Regions from separate parts of the Homo sapiens genome. Here region 2 is linked to region 1. The links are contacts of gene promoters, found by promoter capture Hi-C in blood cells and fetal thymus (Javierre and others, 2016). All regions are on one chromosome and are shown on one strand. The core of a region is centred on a gene start or on the middle of the fragment in contact, and the rest is flanking DNA. Distances in the headings are between cores, read along the strand shown. Region 1 holds the start of WASHC4 (WASH complex subunit 4). Region 2 overlaps HCFC2 (host cell factor C2).

Region 1 (7,440 bases), core at 4,746-7,245:
TTCAATTTCCACCTCTTCCTGATCATTGACTATATGTGATCTATTTATCAAGTGAAATCTCAGATCTCCCTTCTGGTTACATACTAACTAACTATTTATGCAAGTAAGTTATTATATACCCTTTCTCATTAGGTTGTAATTTTTGTTTACAGAGGTTTTATCTGAGTTTGTGGTTTTTCCCAAAATACTAAGAACCTTGTATAGTAAAAACAATAAAATAACTGCCCAATAATAGAACTTAAACAGAGGTTCCGAAGAGAGCAACTGCGGAGATGGAGTCTGTCATATAATAAGATTGTAAAGATTAGAAAGCTTCTGTAGGGGAAGATAAAAACTAAGAGATGATTTCACCCTTTTATAAAATCTGAGAGTTGAGAAAAAAAACAGATTTTATAATCCTATCTAGAAGAGGCCCTTAAAGCCCAACAGCAAGTCTTAAAAAAATCAACAAGTATTACTTAATGGCGAGAAAGCCCAACAGCATCTGTTTAAAAAATCAACATGTATTACTTAATGCCAAGTGACAGATATATGAAACTTATTACCCTCAGAGATAGTACAGGTTGAGAATGACAGTTTCCTAGTAGAGTTCCTATAACTTACATACAATGATTCTCACAGAAGTGTTGAGGAACAAAAAGAGACAATTACAAATTTGGGGGGGGATGATTTTTAAAGTAAGACTAAGTCTATCCAGCCTGCAAGAAAAGAAGTCAAAGGAAAGTAATTTCAGTTTACAAATATATAAAGTATTTGTGAGGCAGTTCAGGGTATTGGATAAGGGCACAGGCTCTGGAGTCAAGCTGCCTGATATTCATTATTTAACTAAATGTGTCACTTACTTGACTAAGTTACTTAACTTTTCTATGCCTTAGTTTTCTCATTTACAAATGGAGATGACATTGTATCTACTTTATAGGATTGTGGTGGGAATTAAAAGTCAATACTTGTCCTATAATGCAATACTAAAAAGATAACCCAATTTAAAAATGGGCAAAGGATGTGAACAGACATTTCTCCAAAGAAAACAGACACATGGCCATAAGCACATGAAAAGATGCTCAACATTATTAGCCATCAGAAATGCAAATCAAAGCCACAATGAGCTTTCACATTCACTAGGAAGAATATAATCAAGACAATAAAGGCTGGCAAGGATGTAGAGAAACTGGAACCCTCATGCAGTGCTGGTAGTAATGTAAAATGGTATAGCCATATTGGAAAACATTCTGGCAGTTCCTCAAAAAGTTAAACATAGTTACCACATAACCCAGGATTTCCACTCCCATATATACATATGTATAAAATATACACACAATGTACACACATTTTATATACAATATACTTATATATGTCTACACAAAATCATGTGCCCAAATGCTCATAGCAGCCAAATAGTAGAAAAATCCAATGTCTATCAACTGATGAATGGATAAATAAAATGTGGTTATCCATTCCTTACAATGGAATATTATTCAGCAACAGCAAAAAAAGAAAGTACTAAAAACATGTGACAACATAGATGAGCCTTGAAAACATAAGTTAAAGAAGCCAGCAACAAAGGAGCACATATCGTATGATTTCATTTATATGAAGTGTACAGAGGAGACAAACACATAGAGATAAAAAGTAGATTGACTGGTGGTTGCCTAGGGCAGGTATGCCATGGCATGAACTGGGGGTTGATTATCACACGGTACATGGTTTCTTTTTTGGGGGCTGAGAACGTTCTAACATTGACTGTTGTGATGGTTGTACAACTCAGTGAATATGCTAAAAACAACTGAATTATACAATTTAAATGAGTGAATTGTATGATATATGAATTATATCTCAAGAAAGCTGTTATAAAAACAAGTCAGTGTGTGACTTAGGACAGTGTGTAATACACAAGTGCTCAATAAAATGTAAATTATTTTTCAAGTGGTAACAAACTAATTTTAAAGATAAAAGAAATATTTCAAAATGGAAAGAGTAATGTATTTTATACATTAAAAAATTACTCACACATTAACATCTATATAGCATGAGAGAACTTTTCAGAAATGGTGAAAATATTCTCTATCTTAATTGGGATATGAGTTACAAGTGTTTGGCAAAATTAAGAGTATCTGCATTTCACTCTATGTAAAATAGTCTCAATCAAGAAAAAACAAAGCCTGAATATTCTATCCAGCCCTCATTTTCTTAATAATGAAAATCAAAGGCAAGCTCAAAGACTTGGAGTTTGTGTCATTCTTTGACACTAAAGGCTGTGTGTTTGTCATTCTTAAACAGAAAACACACACATTTAAAAAACATCTGCATGGCTTAGAGAAAAGGAAATTAACAATTTTCTCCAACTTTCATTTTGTTCTTAGATTTCAAATAAAAATACTTTTTCCATTTTAAAAAATTATGTTTTCAGGATATAGTATGTCCAGAAAATATATACATATATTTTTAAAAAATCAAATCAAACCTTTAATGCTATAGGATCAAGATTGAAATCCCAAACATCTCCAATTGAGTCATCCAGAGCGTCCTCAATTCTTCTCAGTTGAGAGGTATACTCCTCAAGAAATTTCCCATAATTCTTAAGTTGGACTTCGGCATGAATTTCTAAGTTTAAATTTTAAAACAGTATGTGATAAGTGCAAGTAATGAATTGCAGGACATTTACTTCAAATAACCTCAAAAGTCACGCAAAGCACTGTTAATTATTACTCTGGAATGTCTGGACTTCCTGAAAATAAAGTTCCAAAGTTAAACAACAATTCAGCTTTCAATCTTCTCTATACACGAAATAATTTTAAAAGCAGTAGATGTTACCATATATAAAGTTACTACCTTAAAACCCTAACATATTATGAAAAAGCCACTAGCCCATCTACCCCCATAATAGAGGGCTTTGAACCAATCTGAAAAGTGCCTTAAACAATTCAATGTCCTGATTCTATCTTTTAGTCATGAACAACTCTTTTGCAAAAACAAATATTCATGATCTGAAGGTGAAAAAAACAGTCTGTCACAGAAGTAACACTTAAAAATGTAGTTTTTAATTCTATACACACTAATGTTTAATAATACACCTAAATATTTTTAAATGGAGGTTTTATACCTGCTTGAGCATATTATTTCTATAATGTCTAAAATTTAACCAAGATATTTGTTAAATTATTTAACTGTCATAATCAAGTTGGAAAAACCAGCAAAGAACACTGCTTGACTACAGAATACTATGCTGTTCTTCACAGAATTAACACATTCATAGGTAACTTTAAGGAATCATTGGAATAAGCTGGATTTTAAAATATGCCTATTCGTCAAAGTATTTCACGTTACACATAAAAATTCATTACTTGTTCCCAAAGGTAACAAATTCAACTCCAACTCAGTTTCTTTTATTGATATGAATAACTTTATTCAACCTTTGTCTTCTAAAAAAGGTAAAAATTTGCTCTCCTCAAATTAGCAATGTGAAGCAAGTAAGAGAAAGTGTGTTCTGACTCATGCTGTATTAAAGTATAAAGACCTAGCCCCCACTCTCCTTTATTCTTCAACCACATAAAGTTTTAAATCCGGTGAATCCATTTAGTTCATTAAGGTTTCTGTCTTATTATAGCATTAATCTAGGCAATTTTGGAAAACAATTAGTCTAGATATGATTCACAGACCAAAAATTAATGAACGCCAAGCACAGGGAGGTGTTCTCTTCCCTACAGCTTACATATAAGACTGCCCAGATTCTCAGAACCCCAAATAGTTGTCTTATTCTCAACTACACAGGAAATGACCAGTCAAAGCTGCATTTGACCAGCAAATGACTTCTTAAAGACAATGCTAGGCCGGGCATGGTGGCTCACCCCAACACTTTAGGAGGCCAAGGCCGGTGGGTCGCTTGAGACCAGGAGTTCAACATGGCAAAACCTTGTCTCTATCCCAATTTAAAAAGAAAAAATCAGCCAGCTACTAAGGAGGCTGAGGTAGGAAGATCACCTGAGCTCAGCTGGTCGAGGCTGCAGTGAGCCGTGGCGATGCCACGGCACTGGGCGACAGAGTGAGACCTTGTCTCGAAAAAAAAAAAAAAAAAAAAAGACAATGCTAGAGAAACACCACGCCAATAAATCACTCCTTTAGTATGTTCAGGGATTCACAAACAGGAAACAGAAAACCTAAAATAACATTAAAAGTTCCTTGCTGACAATAAACGGTTGTAAAATTGGTGAAAGTTAAAATAACAAAAGTTGAGATAAGAACTACATGGTAATTTTTTAAGAGTAAAAATTCCAAAAACCTACTTAACATGCTCATCTTTGTCAACAGACTGCACTCCTTGTTTTATCTTTTTATCCCTAATATCTAGCACAGCCACTGGTTGTAGAAAATATCTGTTGAGTGAATCAGACCATTCTACTCCAGGCTGAACCATTTTCAAACTCAATTAACATAACTCTATTCCAATTTTTTTTGAAGATACCAGTTCGTCATCTTTGTCCATAAAACATATATGACAAGGTACAGTTCACTTTATAACAATACAGAATCCCCTCCACAAAAAAAAATTAAAAGATTTTGTCATTATCTCCAAGGTTAATTTTTATGCTGCATAAGAGCTAATACCTTATTATCACCCAGGCTAGAGTGCAATGGCGCGATCTCGGCTCACTGCAACCTCCGCCTGCCGGGTTCAAGCGATTCTCCTGCCTCAGCCTCCCAAGTAGCTGGAATTACAGGCGCTCGCCACCAAGCCCAGCTATTTATTTTTTAGTAGAGACGGGGTTTCACCATGTTAGCCAGGCTGGTCTTGAACTCCTGACCTCAGGAATGTTTTGTGAAAAACTGCAACCCATCCTGGATGTAGCTCACTCTTCTCTGAGAGACTTGTAAAACCTAATTCATCTAACATTGTAGGCATTAGTCTCTCTTCGTAAATCAAGCAAAATTCATCCGGAATTTTTAAAAGCAACGTTCCACCTTTTGGGAAAACTATGAGGGAAAAAAAAAATCACAAACAGCATGCTCCAATCTCTCTTAGATCACTTACACAGATTACTATGACCAAAGATAAGAAGCAGATTGCCAACTTGTATTTATTTCAAGTAGAGTTTCACTACAATTAATTTGGCCTCAATATTTTACTGAAAGAAACACAATTTGTTTATTTCGGGATAGACTTCTAAGTTAAAATCAGACAATTCGATCTTGTGAAGCAAAATTTGAAGATTTGCTGTAATTTTTGAAGCCTTTATAACTGCGATGGAAACTGCAGAACATCACTGAAAAATATCACTTAGCATAAATAAAAGGCCTGGAAAATGATAAAATGACATTCACGTGTTTATTTTCGCAGGGTGAAAAGTTCTTTTTTCGCTCCCTTCTACGGTTATAGCAACGCGATGGGAAAGACACCCAAACTTGCAAAAGTTGATTTGGGAGGAAAAGAAGAAAAACAGGAAACCGAAACAGGAACCCAGACATCAGCGTCCTCCAGAGCTGAACGCTCAGAATCTGGCGAAATCCCCAAGAGGCCAGAGACAGAAGCAGCCTGGGATCCCGGGGCCGCTGGGCCTCCCGGGCGCGCCCCGCCCAAGCCCCGGGGCAGCTGAAGGGGGACGCCGCTCCCCGCGGGGCACCGCAGGCTCCCCAGGAGAGTCTCCGCCTCACACGCCGAGCCCTGAACGGGCAGCCTGACCCGCCGTGGCTGGGACCCCAACCCCGAAAGTAACGCTGGAGAGCGCGTCCCTCGCACACCCCAAGGGCTCTGAAGTGTCCCGCACCAGACGGCTGCGCAGCCGTCCCTCTCGCAGGAGCGCTGCCCAGCCCAGAACAGCGGCGGGCCGAAGGAGCGTCCACCCGCAGCCCTCGCCCTGCAGCTCCCTTACTCTGCGAGCCGTCGTCAACGCGGTCAAACTCCCAGTCCGGGGACAGAGTCTCCACCGCCATCACCCCGGCGCCTCCCACAGACACAGCCCCAACCAGCCCGTGCGGCGACGACGGCCTCACCCCAGCTACTGTCACAGCACGTGACTTCCGGCCCCGGCCCCGCCTCCGCTCGCGAGGGCCGGCCGGGCTCGTTGCCCCTGCGACCGCGGGGGCCCCTGGGAAAGCGAGTCCTCCGCCGTGGCCGAAGGCGGCCGCCATGGCGCCGGCAGTGCCAGCGGGCGTCTTGCGACCCGGCTCGGGCTTCGCCACCATTCACTGTGCTTCTCAAGCCACTTCGGCACTCTAATTTCGCCCTGCTCTCTCTAGACGATTTTTAATACCTGGGAAAGTTACTCCCCAGTCTAACCTAAAAAGGTAGAATTGATGGGGTGGGGAATTAACAGGAAGGCATGATCCTCGAGGATAACGCTGACCAGGCGCTTCTTCCAACAAGCCTGTTTCCCTCTCTGTCGCCACCGTAGGAGTTCCTACAGCTCTCCCGCACATTCTGTACGGATTGTTTTTTAGTCAAGACGTTCTGTGCGAGAGGAGAAGTTACTTTATGAACACCCTAACAGGGGATCTTACGACCTCTTCCCCGCTCTCCACTCAGTCCTTTTAAAAACGCGAGGCAGGATGAAGAACGCTATTGAAGTACATTCTAAAATGATCCCACCTGCAATTTGGATTTTTGGAGAATCGGGATCGGTGTAAAATTCTACATGCATACACGTATTTGCACAAGAATATTTATAGCAACGTGGTTTTTAATAGGAAACTATCTAAATGTTCATTACAAGTGAATTACATAAAGCTCAATACATCCATACTACGAATCACTGAAGAGCTGCTAAAATAGATGAAATATATTTATAATGGCATGAACAACCGACACAAGACAGTTGCAGAGTAATGTGTATTTGTGATTACATTTATGTTTTTAAGTTATACAAACGCGTATGTGCCTACGTGTATGTAAATTCATAGGAAGACAAATCAGAGGACGGTGGTTACCTGGGGAAAAGCATGTGTTGGTGAGTAACAGGATTTTCAAGTTTTGATGTGTCTACTTATGTGTTTTGAATCCTTAACAATGAGAATTTATTAGGGTTTTACTCTTGTAATCTTAAAAAGTACCGAAAAGAACTAATCAATGTAGGCAAAAGGTCTATTGAAGAGCATTCTTCTGAGGTCATTGGATCTGCCCTGAGTTAAATGTTTATTGAGTGCCCACTGGGTACCAGGCACCAGGCTAGATGCAGAAACTATAAAACATGTAAGAAAATTGCTTTCTGACCCTATGGCAGACTTAGTGGGCATTTCAGAAAGAAAAAAAAAATCTTGAAAAGAACAGGCATCCTTAGGGTCTAATGGCTGACAAACTTTTTTCCTGTACTTTCTGTGTGACCATGAGTTTGACTTTCCTGGATTCTTAACATTTGCATTAAATCACTGTAATTAATCTCCCAGCAGCTCATTGTGATAAATTGAACTTACAAGTCAGAAAAATTTGAGTCTATAAATACACTAATCTAT
Region 2 (7,440 bases), core at 1,533-4,032, 1.0 Mb after region 1:
TATAACCATAAACATCCAATTACCTTCATACACTTTTTTACTTACACTGTTAGGAACGATGTTATTACTGCCTTGTCTGTGAGGGTCCATCCTGACTCCTGAAGGAATGAGAAAGGTTCAGACTGATATGCTCTTAACTAGCTTCAATAAAATATAATTAAATATTTTTAAAGTTACATATTAAAGTTTAAAAAGTAGTATCTTTACCAAAGGTTATATGTTTTCTTAATAGTTTGCTTAAGTTGACTGAAATCCTCTCTGGAAAAATGTGCAAAATTTGTGTTTGCTTTTACTTCCAAGGCCTATTTAGTTAAAAATACTTTTGAAAAAAGCTAAGATATTTATGAAAGCAAATTAAAGCCATCTGCTGAAGTCAACTAATATGTCAATTTAGGAAAGTACATAAAAATGAACTGCAGAAAACACAATCTATCCTACGTGTCTATGTGTTCTACTACATCATAATGGTAAGACATCCAAGTTTTAGAACTGAAATACAATGTATTTGAATTATCAGGCATGGACCTAATGTCATAAAATTTCTTAAACCAAACCTAATCACAGACTTTTCTGCAGTGTATGTGTGTATATATATATACATATATATATATATATATGTATATATATATACACACACACATACACACACACACACACACACACACACACACACGTACTGCAGTATATGTGTGCTTGTGTGCGTGTGTGTGTGAATTTTTTTTTTTTTTTTTAAGACAGAGTCTTGCTTGTTGCCCAGGCTGGAGTGCAGTGGCATGATCTCAGCTCACTGCAACCTCCACTACCTGGGTTCAAGTGATACTTTTGCTTCAGCCTCCCAAGTAGCTGGGATTACAGGTATGCACCACCATACCCGCTAATTTTTGCATTTTTAGTAGAGATGGGGTTTTACCATGTTGACCAGGCTGGTCTCAAACTCCTGACCTCAGGTGATCCACCTGCCTCAGCCTCCCAAAGTGCTGGGATTACAGGCGTGAGCCACCGCGCCCGGCCAGTATATATTTTTAAAAGCATGTGAGCACACATACTTTAAGCATGAAAATTATGTTACCTTGCATATTTGGTGCTGCTGAAGAATCTGATGATGCAGCTTGGTATGGCAAGTCTGTACTCAACTGCAAAAGATAGCCCTCAACTGTAGACACTTCATCCCACTTGACATGAAAGGAGTTGGTAGTGGCTTTGATCAGCTGTACTTGAGATGGTGCCGGTGGTTTCTCTATAGAACAATCATGATATTATACATTTAAGTTTCCAGTGTATAAATGGTTTGCTGATATAATTTGTGTGGACCAGAGCTTTGAAAACATCAGCAATGAACATTTCATCTGCTTACCAAGACAGGGAAAGTTTACTCAGATAAACACAGCTACAGTAGGTCAAATAAAAATAGTTTGGGGTTCTTATTCTATTTATTTATTTATTTATTTATTTATTTATTTATTTTCTTAGACAAATATATCTATAAACAAAACAATCCAGTACGAAACTACCAAACTATATGAGTCTTCAGATTTGGAAATGTGTTTAATCCTAGAAGGAGTTTTTCTGGGGGAAGCTGGGAATCCTAGAAGGTTTTTGGGGGGAGGCTGGGGAGAGGCAAGGGGAGCCAAGTATTAAAGCTACATTATTTTATCTTTCTTAGAAGTTCTAATATTCTTTAATTTTATGAGCCAATTTTCAGCCAACAGCGTACATTTTAGCAATTCTGTTAATGTTAGCAAAGATAACTTGGACATGATATTTTACAAAAGCATAACTTCTCTGAAGTTAATACTCCCTTATCAAGACTTGTACTACCAGCTGGGCATGGTGGTTCACACCTGTAATCCCTGCACTTTGGGAGGCCAAGGCAGCCTGGCCAACATGGTGAAACCCCATCTCTACTAAAAATACGAAAATTAGCCAGGCGTTGTGGCTGGCGCCTGTAATTCCAGGTACTCGGAAGGCTAAGGCAGAAGAATCACTTGAATCTGGGAGGTGGAGGTTGCAGTGAGCCGAGGTCGCAACACTGCACTCCAGCCTGGGCGGCAGAGTGAGACTCCGCCTCAAAAAAAAAAAAAAAAAAAATGGTGGGAGGAAGAGATAAATCCTTAACTTCCATAGCAGAAAGTGAGCACATTATTGCCTAAATGAAAAAAAAAATACATCAAAGTAACAATATATGCATGTGATATAGAGATATGGAAGTAAAGAATCATTTAACAGAGTTAAGAACAAATAAATGCTTGTAAAGCAAGTAAAATGAGGAAAGGTGCGAGCAAAGAACGTGATTTTTCATAGAAAGCCTCATGGAATTCTATTACTCTTTTACATGCTATCAAATGCAAAGTTTAACTAAAAGTGAAAAAAAGAAAAAAAAAAACAAGATGAGCCCCCTCTTCCACCAAAACTGATGCTAACTTATCAAGAGGAAAAGCAAAATCTATATTTTGCCCTTATGATCATAGCCATGATTACTTTTAGAAGAATACTGATATCTAAAGCTCATTATGAAAAGGTTTATAGAAAAACAGGCCATTCAAATCCAATTTTTAAAAATCTTTTTAAGTCACAGATCCCTTAGAGAATCTGTGCAAAGTGATATAATCCCTACAGAGAAAAATTCAGTCATACACATTTTTTTCATCCAATTTCAGAGACTGAAGCTTATCCTTAGACTTTAGTTAATAATTTCCAATTTCAAAGATAAACTAGTAAGTTGAATTTTCTATATTTTTTTCTTGCTTGCTAGTATATGCTTCTTCCACAGAAAGCATTTACTCTCTTGTTTCATTATTTTTTCAACTATCTTAATTTTAAAATTAAACTCTTTTTACATTACAAAAACAATACATGCTACTGTAGAAAATACAGACAAGTAATGACAGAAAAGCTTTGAAGAAAATGTATAATCTCAGCTCTCAGATAATGCTTTGGTGTGTGTCCTTCCAAGTTTTCTATTTATAATTTTGAAAACACTGGAGTCATTATACGTTTTATAATCTGTTTTTCTCATATAACATCACATATTACATCTCCAGATCTAATTTCTCTAATGGCCTCTAGATTCATCTATTCATTCAAATGCCTGCTTGATCTTATTTCAAACTTAGCATGGTCTAAATGGAACTCTTGATTTTCTCCACAATGCTGTTTTCTCTCAATCTTCCCTGTCTCAGTAAAATTCAAGCTAAAAACTTCATCCTCCATTCTTCCCTTTCTTTCACTTGCCACACAAATTATCAACCAGTTCTGTCAACAAGAACTCCAAAATATATCCTGAATTTATCCAGTCCTCCCCTCCTCCATTGTCACCACTATAGTCTAAAACGCTTTTTTGACTACTGCAAGAGATTTCTAACTTGTCTTGCAGTGTGCACCTACAATTTTTTCCATACAACTGCCAGTGACCATTCCAAAATGTACATCAGAATGTGTCACATCTCTCCTTCAAACTTACACAAAACTTCCCACTGTACTTTAAAAATAACTTAGAAATTCTAACACCACATTCAAGGCCCTATATCCTGTGGTCATCTCTCTAACCTCCATTCCTACACTTTCCTCTTTGTTTACCCAGCTCAAATCTGTTGCCAAACACACCAAGTATTCCCATCTCAGACTCCTTGTATGTGCTGTTCCCTCCTCCTGCAGTGGTTTCTCTGGCCTTTTTATGTGGGTAGCTCCTTCTCACCATTCGAATCACATCCCATGTCATCTCATCACAGAAGCCTTTTTTGACTACCCACCCTGAAGCAGCCACCACTCCCACGCCCAATACCTAACACCACTATCTCATGTATTCATATGATTAACAGAAACTGAACTTATTTTGTTAACCTGTTTCACTATTGCTCATTATCTCCTTGCTGTCGTACCCCCTCAGAATGTAAGTTCTTTGTGAGAGCAGGCGCACTATCAGTCTTGTTCGCTGCTATATTCTCAGCATTTAGAACAATTCCTGCTACGCAGCTGTCAATCAGTATTTATTCAAAATCGATGTGAGGTACACATTTTTAAAAATTTTGGTGCTTTAATAATTATTTTCCCCCTTTCGAGATGGGGTCTTGCTCTGATACCCAGGCTGGAGTGCAGTGGAGCAATCAGAGCTCACTGTAGGTAGACTCAGACTCCTGGGCTCAAGTGAACCTCTTGCCTCAGCCTCCCAAGAAGCTGGGACTATAGGCATGAGCCACTGTGCCTGGCTAATTTTTTGTTTGGTAGAGATGAGGGTCTCACTATGTTGCCTGGGCTTGTCTTGAACTCATGGCCCCAAGCAATCCTCCTGCCTCAGCTTCCCAAAGTGCTAGGATTACAGGTGTGAGCCACTGCACCCAGCCTCTAATATATTTTTTTAAAATCTTTTATTTTAAAATAATTTTAGATTTACAGAAAAGTTGCAAAGATAGTACAGCATTGCCATAACCCCCTGACCCCAGCTTTCCCTTTTCTCCAGCTTCCCCTAATATTACCACATTTGTTAAAACTAAGAAATTATTGGTGTAATACTATTAACTCAACTATAGACAACTCAGATTTCACCAGTTTTTCAATTAATGTCTTTTTTTGTTCCAGGATCCAATCCGGAACACAACATCACATTCAGTTGTAATGTCTCCTTTGTCTCCTCCAGTTTTTGATTATTTCTTAGTCTTCCCTTGTTTTCCTTCACTTTGAAACTTCTGAATAGTACTGCTCACATATTCTTTGTAGAAGATCTAGAATGTCCCTCAGTTTGGGCTTGTTGATGTTTTCTCATAGTTAGGCTGAGGTTATGGATTTGGGAATACCACCGAGGTACTTTCACTTATCACATGATATTAGGGAGTAAATGATACTAACTTATCACTAGTGATATTAACCTTGATCACTTGATTAAGGTAGTGCTTGCCAGGTTTCTCATGCTTGCCAGGTTTCTCGTGCTTGCCAGGTTTCTGTAAAGCTACTATTTTCCCTTTCCATACTTTATTCTTTGCAAAGGAGTCTTTAAATCCAGCCTACACTCAAGGAGAGGATAATTATATACTTCTCAGGAGTGGAGAATAACTATACATATTGTTTCTTCCATTCATACTTAATTATGGGAAACAAGAGGTAGTAGCATTTACAGTAAGTCTCAAAAGGCAGACATTTGAGTGCTTACCTAAAGGAAAAAGTTTATTTGTTAAATATTCTTACCTACCAGTATCAAGATACCAAAGATCCTTGCAGCAAACTTGACTATTCAGTGCTTTTTTGTAGCCATCTCTTCCACTCCAAAAATACAATCGAGTGCCGATTGCAACAGCACAGTGGCCAGCTCTTGGTCTTGGTCTTGAATTTTTTTTATCTTCCTGAGAATCTGATACTAGGGTGGTCCACTCTGTTGTATCTGAAAAGATAGAAATATCCATGACTAATCTTTTGTTCTTAACAAAATTACAAAAATTATCTTATTAATAAAGATTAATTCAATGAGTAACTCTTAAAAGACTCACCCAGATTTAGGTAAGAAAATGAACTGGTACATCTCCATTCACAATCATGAGGTGAAGTCTCAGTATTTTCCCCCTTATGTGGGACCCATCCACCAAAAATGTACATCCTGAGCAACAACAAAACAAAAACATAAAGTAGCTTATTTCATTTTACTTCTTGGATTTGAAGTGCTAAGAATAGAAAAATTTCCTATCAGTTGACTCAGAGCTTCAGAACTATTCATTCGCTTACCATTGTCAAGGTAATGGGAATAAGAAGATGAATAAAGTGGTCTTTTTTCAAGAGTTTACAATTTTATGAAGCAGTACAGAATCACAATTATTTCTCTCTGGCAAGTTACTTAAAGTGAAGAATATTTCAACTATAATATACTTAAAAATCAATATTGCCTATAATATACTAAGGGTACCTCAGTCAGAGAGACACTCAATTGATCTATGACATCCAAAGTCAAATTTAAAATTGTATGCATATAGTAACCGAAGAGGATTAAATTTCATATAACTTTGGTCATTGATATCACTTAAACAAAAAACTTTAAACTGTGTTCCTTTAGGGCCCTAGGAGTTCTTAAGACAAGCCTGATGGCTGCTGGAAGAGAAAGGCTCATTAGGCAGAAATCAGGGCCCATTTGACCTGATGTCAACCAGATCTATTTTTTTTTTTATGCCAACCAGAGATTTTTTTTTTTTTTTTTTTTTGAGACAGGATCTTGTTCTGTTGCCCAGGCTAGAGTACAGTGGCATGATAACGGTCCACTGCAAACTCAACCTCCTGGGCTCAGGCCATCCTTCCACCTTGGCCTCCCAAAGTGCTGGGATTATAGGCATGAGCCACCACGCCTGGCTACAGCTCTATTTTTTAAAATCCATTTTATATGTTGGGGTTTCAATGGAAAATTTCATTTTATAAAATGCCTCTTCAGTTAAAAAAATGTATAAGATTTTGTTTAAATGTAAAGACCATCCTGTTTGGTTTTGAGTTTATTTAAAAAAAAAAAAAAAACTAGGTTCTAAATTACAACAGTCATTTCCTAAACTATTACATTTAATATTTAATATTACTGCAATAGTAAATATTTCATTAAATTCTAATTAAACAGTACTTCTAATTGTGGCACAATGTTGCACAAATAAGGGAATTTGTTGATGGTAGTAACAGTCAACATTTATGGAGTGCTCACTTCATACCAGAAACTGTTCTAAGCATTTCATATGTATTAATCCATTTAGTCTTCATTACAGCCTTGTCAAGTAAGTTTTACTTTAATCCACATTGTATACTTAAGGAAAGTGAGGTACAAACAGATTAAATTTTCTTGCCCCAGGTCAAACAGGACAAGTGCCAAAGCTGAGTCTTGAATTTAGGCAATCTGGTCACAGAGTTTGTATTCTAACCATCAACTCTATATTGCAATCTAAAGCATAATCATTAAGAGCATGTGCCTCAGTACAAATGAAGCACTACCAAAAATATGAAAAAGGAAAAGTGAGTTAGGTGATTAGTTTGGCAACACCCAGGTTAACACTTACATAAAGCCTACACTGGGCAGGGCATTATAAGGAATGCAAAGAAGTAAAAGAGAGAGCATAAGAAAATGGCACATTAAGTATTTTAACTTCTACAGACAAATTATTTTAGCTTCAGTCAGCACAATCAAACTTTGTTAAGTTTCATAATCTATTTCCAAGAAACTACTAGCATTACTTTCTTTGTGTGCTTCTTAAGTTGTTTTTTTAAAAAAAACAGAAGCAAAATACAAAAAACCACCATACTTGTTTCCTATAACACTGGCTGTATGAAGGCTTCGTGGAAGTGGCACTGTCCCTTTAGTTTCTGGTTTTGACCATGACATAGTTTCTAAAAGTAAAAATAATTATATTAGCAACTTGATCTAACAAGAGTAAATTACCTCAACTTCCATAATTTTAAAAAATAAAACAAGGACTTACCAAAATGAAA

What was found. The method cuts DNA at HindIII sites, captures the fragments that hold promoters and counts their contacts. A CHiCAGO score of 5 or more calls a contact.
Region 2: a contact is called between a fragment that was not itself captured here and the fragment with the promoter of WASHC4 in region 1, in 5 of 17 cell types (total CD4 T cells, total B cells, total CD8 T cells and 2 more). The highest score is 8.4, in total CD4 T cells.

The regions. Positions count from the first base shown.
Region 1 is chr12:105,106,286-105,113,725 of GRCh38, reverse strand. WASHC4 (WASH complex subunit 4) reads right to left here and starts at 5,995. Exons shown (of 33, transcript NM_015275.3): 1 at 5,865-5,995; 2 at 2,462-2,601. The coding sequence starts at 5,925. LOC414300 (a long non-coding RNA gene) reads left to right here and starts at 6,084. Exons shown (of 2, transcript NR_121211.1): 1 at 6,084-6,938. RefSeq lists enhancers at 3,729-3,888, 5,727-5,886 and silencers at 5,447-5,696, 5,907-6,186. The HindIII fragment of the contact is 7,983 bases long and covers 315-7,440 here.
Region 2 is chr12:104,080,644-104,088,083 of GRCh38, reverse strand. HCFC2 (host cell factor C2) reads right to left here. Exons shown (of 15, transcript NM_013320.3): 5 at 7,254-7,338; 6 at 5,478-5,584; 7 at 5,183-5,371; 8 at 1,070-1,237; 9 at 46-98. Among named protein-coding and RNA genes, the nearest start is that of HCFC2, 20 kb to the right of the region's middle. The HindIII fragment of the contact is 227 bases long and covers 2,669-2,895 here.